2 separate regions of the Homo sapiens genome follow, and region 2 is linked to region 1. Evidence: promoter capture Hi-C in human tissues and cell types (Jung and others, 2019). All regions are on one chromosome and are shown on one strand. Each heading gives the region's core, a stretch centred on a gene start or on the middle of the fragment in contact. The rest is flanking DNA. Distances are from core to core; before and after follow the strand shown. Region 1 holds the start of SLC16A2 (solute carrier family 16 member 2). Region 2 overlaps SLC16A2 (solute carrier family 16 member 2).

Evidence for each region. The method cuts DNA at HindIII sites, captures the fragments that hold promoters and counts their contacts. A contact is called where the count stands out against the background at its distance.
Region 2: a contact is called between a fragment that was not itself captured here and the fragment with the promoter of SLC16A2 in region 1, in 1 of the 25 tissues and cell types used here (ovary).

The regions. Positions count from the first base shown.
Region 1 is chrX:74,419,825-74,423,611 of GRCh38, reverse strand. SLC16A2 (solute carrier family 16 member 2) reads right to left here and starts at 2,119. Exons shown (of 6, transcript NM_006517.5): 1 at 1,545-2,119. The coding sequence starts at 1,974. It overlaps LOC105373252 (a long non-coding RNA gene), which reads left to right and starts at 2,964. Exons shown (of 2, transcript XR_007068267.1): 1 at 2,964-3,306. The HindIII fragment of the contact is 17,504 bases long and covers 1-3,787 here.
Region 2 is chrX:74,468,795-74,472,654 of GRCh38, reverse strand. The region is part of intron 1 of SLC16A2 (solute carrier family 16 member 2); the gene reads right to left. Among named protein-coding and RNA genes, the nearest start is that of SLC16A2, 49 kb to the right of the region's middle. The HindIII fragment of the contact is 8,235 bases long and covers 1-3,860 here.

The DNA of each region.
Region 1 (3,787 bases), core at 870-3,369:
GTGGGCCTGGGTAGTCAAGAGACTTCCTTTGACAACCACTGACGCACTATCTTCATCGGGGCCTGCACACCGCTGCTGTGCCAATGGATCACAAGGTCTGAGGCACCAAGATCCCCAAAGCCCCTTCTGCCAGGGAAGTCCAGCAAAGCTGCAAACTAAAACCACAAGTCCTGGAGAGGGCCCAGGGAATCCACAGGTGGACACTCCAGAATTCAAGGTTTCTATGTTCACTTAATAATTCCCAGGTCCCCTCAAATGGCAGTAGAAATATGTGGGGGTTGGAGGTTGGCGAGAGGATGGAACTCCTCAGTCCGAGGGCAACACTGCGAAAAGCCACATATTCTGAGTTGTGAACTTGGGGCTGGTGGCAAGAGTCGAGCTGTCCTGAGGAGCCACGAGAGGGAGCAAGCCTTGCCAGAGAGGGCATCCCAATCCCCCGTCTTCGTCTGAATCCCTCACCAGAACTGCTGAGGGATTTCGCCAGCGGCTTTGCTGGGAAAGCGAGATGGTTCCTCTGACTTCTCCCAGCTCACAGGCGGCCTCAATGAGAAGAGCGCACACGCCTGGGGTCTTGCGTCCACTGGCCTGGAAAGCGAGGGCTATGCCCCCCAACTCTGTCTGAGATCAAGTCAGCTCCAGGGGAAAGCTGGAATGGCGGGTCTGGCACTCAGGCTGTAGGCCGAACGAGGCACCCCACCGGTAGCAGAGAGGCGCGGGTTGCCGGGGAAGGCAGGGCTGAAGTTGGGGGCGGTGCGGAGTGAGCAGCAGGGCCCAGCCTGCCTGCGGCCTCACGCCTCTCTGGCAGGAGACTGCGGAGACCGCCTCCCCGCCCGCTCTGGGGCTCGGCTCATAGGGCACGGAGATCCATTCACTCCCGCGGGGCGGCAGAGGACTGCCGGGCCCAGCTGGGCCGTAACGGCGGCGGCCAGAGACGCACTCACACCCCGACTCGAACTCCCTCCCTCCCTTTCTCTCTTGCAGACACGCACGCCTGCCATGTGTTTGACTCTTCGCTCATAGTCATCAGGATTCCTAAAGTGTTTTTAACAGAAAACACCTCCGTTTCCCCAAAGGAACCGGGGGGCTGCTGCGGAGATCAGCGGTACAGTGCTTCTCTCAGAGCCCGCCCCGCCTCTCAATTCTCTCCTCTCCTCATGACTTCTCCCCACCTCCAAAAAAAAAAAAAGTCCTGCAAATATTTTCCCCCAGCACACAGGGGCAAAGGTACCTTAAACCTGAAAGGTGCATTTAGATTTGTCCCAGGGCAAAAAAAAGTCCATTGCTTGCCAAGGATCAATGAATGTCCCAGTTCGTACCCCCGGGACGCCTTGCACCTAGTCTCCCCAGTCCAAGCTGCCCAAAGCCCCGCAACCCGCACCCTAGGAGAGCCATGGAAAGGGGCAAGGGGCAAGGGGTAAGGGGTAAGGGGAGGAGTCGGAGAGGCGCGTTGGAGGGGCGCCTCGGACCGGGAGGTATGGGGTCGGTGGCAGCGGGAGCGGCCAACCTTGCCCAAAATGCCAAGTGGGGCGTGCGGGGCCACTCACCTGCTTGGAACTCCACTTGGCGATTTTTTTCCTTTTCCTCCTCTAGCAGCATGGAGTAGAGGATCCCGACAGAGTTATGGATGCCGAAGATGGAGCCGTTGCACCAGGTGGCAGCGAACACCACCACCCAGCCGAAGCCACCTTCGGGAGGCTGGAAGCCGCGCGCGGTGCCGCGGGTCTCTACCGTAGGCGTGGGCTCGGGTTCGTGCACCCGCTCGGACTCGAACTCCAGCTCCGGCAGGGGTGCGGGGTCCGGTAGGGGCTGGGGCTCCGGCTGGGGCTCGGGCGGGGGCACTGGCACGGGCTCGGGCTCGGGCTCAGGCTCCGGCTCAGACTCCGGCTCTGGGCTACCCACCGGCTCCTGCTGTTCCTGGTCTGCCTCCTGCCAGGGCCCCTTTGCTTCCTCGCTCGCCTGGCTTTGCAGCGCCATCGCGGCGGGGGGACTGTGGCTGCTTGGGCCAGAGGAGCCGCTTTGTGGCTGGTACTTGTTTCTGCTGCTGCAGCTGCTGCTGCTCGGAGGGCTGCTGCTGCCGCTGCCGCTGCCTCCTCCTCCAGGCTCCGCGCCCCAGCTGGCCAGCCCGTCCCGCGACAGACGGTCCCTCGAGCCCTCTCCTCCTCCTCCCACGTCCAACCCCCCTCCTCCTCTCCCCATGTCATCTCTCTCTCCTCCCCCTCCTCCACACCCCCCACCTCTTCCTCCCTCAACAGGCAGCCGCTACAGCCTCGCTCTTCTCCCCAGCCCTTCCTCCTCCTTTTACTCGCCTACCTACTCCAGCCGCCACTGCCTCCCCCAGCTCCCTTCCCAAACTACTGAACCCTGTTCTTGCCCGGATGCCCGTTAGAGGAAAAGTTAAAATGGAAAAAAGGAAGCACAAACTATCCTGTTCTCCTGCCCTCTTTTCCCCGCAGGCTCTAGAACCGACACTGATCAACCCCGAGCCTCGGGAAGACCCCTCCTATTTTTTGCTCCCATACCCTCCTTCCTCACAAGCAGCCCGCAACTGAGGTGGCACCGGGGACCCTAGGACGACAGCTGGCCCGCGAGGAACCCCACCCTGCCCTCAGGAGCTCCCATGTCCCTCCTTGGACTTGAGGAGGACGACCTGAGGGGACAGCCTGGGCCTCGGACAGCGGGTGGACACAATCTTCTCGAGCCCGAGGACTCGGCCCCCCGCGGTCCTGCGCACCCCCGGGAGTCTCCCCCTGCCCCCGCTCTTCCCGGCAAATCCCTGGCGGCCTGGGAGGGGAGGAGGCGGCCATGCAGCGAGGCCCGCCCCTCCGGGCAGTCAATCAGGGCTTTGTTTGCGCCAACCTGGAGCCCGGAGGAGCCTCAGAGGGCCGGGTCTGGGCCGGGCCAGGGCCGGGCCGGGTCTGGGCCGGGCCAGGGCCGGGCCAGGGCCGAGTGTGGGCCAGGAGCCGGGCCAGGAAGGGAGGGAGGTGGCACCAGTGGGGGCCGGGCCCAGGCCCAGTCGGGAGCCGAAGCTCAGTTCAAGCTCCTCCCGACAATCTGTCCCGGACTTAGGAGGAACGAGTTGGAGTCGGGTCCAGCCGCCAGTTTGGGATTGGGCTGCCCCGCCCCCGATATCTCGGCTGGGCTGGTCCCTCAGGCCTCGGCCGCGGCTTTTCAGGTGCTGGAGACTCAGCGGAGCTGCAAGCGGACGGATGTCTTCCCAGCACCCACCGCCCCCTTCCGCCCACCTCAGGCATGCAGACATGGGAGTCCCACTGTATGTCGCAGACTGAGGCCCCAGCCCCACTGAGGGTAAGGGAGAGTTTGTTCCCCAGGAAGCGCGCCGGGTCAGGGAGAAGGAAAGGTGGGGGATCTGTCTTTCTGGTGGCCGGGCACTCAGCAGGGGTGCGCAGGGGTGCCCAGCCTCAGCCCTCAGGGCCCGCTCGGCGATACCGGGAAGCTCTGCCTCCCCTAAGGGTCTACGCGTCTAATGCACTAAACGTGAAGTCGTGGTGTCGTTACCAAGCTACTCGGCTTCCACGAGCGGGCGGGCGAGTGGCAAGACCTTTCTACCCTGCATCTCATTAACCCTCCTGATAAGTGAAAGACTGCATAGCCAGAGGTGATGCAGCTCCGGGGCTGCGTGGCTGCGCTAGATGCCTGTAAATACAGTCATTAAGCACCTGAGGGCTGGCGGAGCTGGGTGGAAGGATATAGACGTCCTGAGGGGCTTGCGCTGCCATATGAGAGGAATCAGCCAAATTCAAAAATCACAGGGCCACGCCACTCAGCA
Region 2 (3,860 bases), core at 445-2,944, 49 kb before region 1:
TGAACAACAAAGTTGGGAGATTCACACTTCCTAATTTCACATCTACTACAAAGGTACAGTAATAAAAACCGTGTGGTACTTGCATAAGAATGAACGTACAGATTAATGAAACAAAATTGAGAGTCCATTTAAAAACCCCTTTATATTTCCTGTGAATTGATTAATAGCAAGGTTGCCAAGATAATTCAATATAGATAAAATAGTCTTTTCAGCAAATGGTGATGAGTCAACTAGATATTCACATACAAAAGAATGAAGCTGAATTCCTACATGACACCATATATAGAAATTAGCTCAAAATGAAGTACATACCTACATATAAGAATTAAAAATATAGAAGTCTTAGAAGAAAGCATAGAAGTAAATAGAATAGGCAATAGTTTTTAGAAATAATTTTAAAAGCACAAGCAACAAAAAAACACTAGATAAATTGGAGTTCATAAAAATTAAAAACATATTTCTGGGTATATACCCAAAATAATTGAAATCAGGGACTCAAACAGATATTTGTCCCCTAAAGTTCAGAGAAGCATCATTCACAATAGCCAAAAGGTGGGAACAACCCAAATGTCCATTGATGGATGATTGGATAAACAAAATGTATATGTATATGCATGTATGTATGTATGTGTGTATATACAATGAAATATTATTCACCCTTAAAAAGGAAGGAAATTCTGACACATGCTACAACATAGGTGAACCTGGAAGACATTATGCTAAGTGAAATAAGCCAGTTACAAAAAGACAAGTAAATACTGTGTGATTCCATTTACTTGATGTACCTAGAGTCATCAAATCCTTAGGGACAGAAAGTAGAATGGTGGTTGCCAAGGACTGAGAAGAAGAGAAAATGTTTAATAGACACAGAGTTTCAGTTTGGGAAGATGAAAAAGTACTGGAGATGGATGGTGGTGATAGTTGCACAAGAACATAAATGTACTTAGTGCCACTGAAATGTACACTTAAAATGGTTAAAATTATAAATTTTATGTTCTGTATATTTCACCACAATAAAACAATGAAAAACTTGTGCTTCAAGGGGCACCAGTAAGATAGTGAAAAGATAACACACAGAATGAGAGAAAATATTTTCAAATCATTTATCTGATAAGGGTTGAGTATCCAGAATATATATTTAAAACTTTAATAATTCAACAATAAAAAGACAAATAACATTGACAAATGGGCAAAGGTTTTCCAGTCTGGCATGTAAAGAGCTTGGAAGTTATCACTCTGTCCTAACAACAAATAAAAAGCTAAACAAACTGAAAAATAAACCACTGTTCTTAGAGCCATCAGAGAAATGAGGTCCCAGGATTATAATAACTGTCTTTCATTCCTAATCCTAAAATAACAGTAACAACACAGAGCTTACACCCTTCACAAAAATTCACACAAAACTAATCATAGACCTAAATGTAAAATGCAAAACTCTAAAATTCCTAGAAGATAATATAAAAGCAAATTTCAATGACCTTGGGTGGTAATTGTTTATGTATAACAACAAAGGCACAATCCATAAAAGATATAATTTGTAAACTGGACTTAATTAAAATTAAGAATCTCTGCTCTGTGAAAGACACTATCAAGTGAATGAGAAGATTGGGAGAAAATACTTGCAAATGACATATCTGATAAAGAATTGTTAATAATATATACAAAGAACTCTTAAAATTCAACAAAAAGAAAATAAATAACTTGATTTTTTTTTTTTGAGACGGAGTCTCGCTCTGTAGCCCAGGCTGGAGTGCAGTGGCGCCATCTTGGCTCACTGCAAGCTCCGCCTCCTGGGTTCACGCCATTCTCCTACCTCAGCCTCCCTAGTAGCTGGGACTACAGGTAGCCGCCACCACACCCGGCTAATTTTTTGTATTTTTAGTAGAGACGGGGTTTCACTGTGTTAGCCAGGATGATCTCGATCTCCTGATCTGCCCGCCTCGGCCTCCCAAAGTGCTGGGATTACAGGTGTTAGCCACCGCGCCTGGCATAACTTGATATTTTTAAAGGCAAATCTAAATGAACACCTCACCAGAAAATATATATGTATGGTGAATGTGCATATGAAAAGATGCTCAATATCATATGTCATGAGGGAATTGCAGATGGAAACAATGAGATACCACTACACACCTATTAGAATAACCAAAATCCAAAACACTGACAACACCAAATGCTGGTGATGATGTGAAGCAACAGGAACTCTCATTTAGTGCTGGTGGGAATGCAAAATGGTACACCCACTTTGGAGGACAGTCTGGCAGTTTCTTATAAAACTAAACATGCTCTTATGGTACAATCCAGCAATTGTGCTCCTTGGTATTTACCCAAGTGGGTCAAAAACCTATGTCCACACACAAAAAAACCCTGCACATTATTGTTTATAGCAGTTTTATTCATAATTGCCAAAACTTGGAAGCAACCAAGATTTCCTTCGGTAGGTGAATGGATAAGCTCTGGTACATCTGGACAGTGGAGTATTGTTCAGCACTCAAAAGAAATTGGCTATCAGGCCATGAAAACACATGGAGGAATCTTAAGTGCATATTATTAAGTGAAAGACACCAATCTGAAAAGGCTCCATACTGTGTGATTCCAATCAGATGATATTCTGGAAAAAGCAAAACTATGGAGACAGTAAAAGGATCAGTGGTTGCCAGGGGGATGGTGAGATGAATAGGTAAAGCACAGGGAATTTTTAGAGCAGTGGAACTATTCTGTATGATACTATAATGGTAGACACATGTTATTATGTATTTGACAAAACTTATAGAATGTACACCAAGAGTGAACCTAATGTAAATTATGAACTTTGGGTAATAATGATGTGTCAATGTAGGTTCATCAATTATAATAAAAGTACTATTCTGGTGAAGGAGTTAATAGTGGAGGTGCTGTGCATGCTGGGGGGTAGGGGGTATATGGGAAATGTCTGCACTTTCTGCTCAACTTTGCTACAAATCTAAAACTGCCCTAAAATCGTCTTTAAAAACAAAAAGCAGGCCAAGAGTTTCAATAGACATTTCTTTAAAGAAGATATACAAATGGCCAATGAACACATGAAAAGATACCTAATATCTTTAGTCGTCAAGGAACTGCAAATAAAAACCAAAAGGAGATACCACTTCACAACCACTAGAATAGCTATAAAAAAAATACAAAAAATAAGTGTTGGTGAGGATGTACAGAAATTGAAATCTTCATGTGTTGTTTGTAGGAATGTAAAATGGGTTAGCTGTTTTGGAAAACATTTTGGCAGTTCCTTAAAATATTAAACATCAAGTTACCACCATATGATCCAGCATTCCCACTGCTGGGTATATATCCAAAAGAAGAAAACTCAGTATATCCAAGAGATATCTGCACTCCCATGTTTGTTGCAGCACTATATGCAATAGCTAAGACATGGAATCAACCTAAGTACCCATCAACAGGTGAATGGATAAAGGAAATGTGATAACATATACTCAATGGAATATTATTCAGGCATAAAAAAGAATGAAATCCTGTCACTTGCAACAACGTGAGTAGAACTGAAAGTCATTATATTAAGTGTAATAAGCCAAGCACAGAAATGTTGCATGTTCTTATTCATATATAGGAGCTAAAAAGGTTGATTGGTCTCATGAAGGTAAAGGGTAGAATGATGGTTACCAGAGGCTGGGAAGGGTAATGGGGAGTGGGGGATAAAGAAGGGTTGGCTAATGGTTACAAAAATATAGTTAGATAGAAGGAATAAGATCTAGTTTTTGGTAGCACAATAGGGTGCCTATAGTTACAAAAAATTGTGTATTTCCAAATAACTAGAAGAATGGAAATAGAATGTTCTTAACATAAAGAAATGATAAATGTTTAAGGTG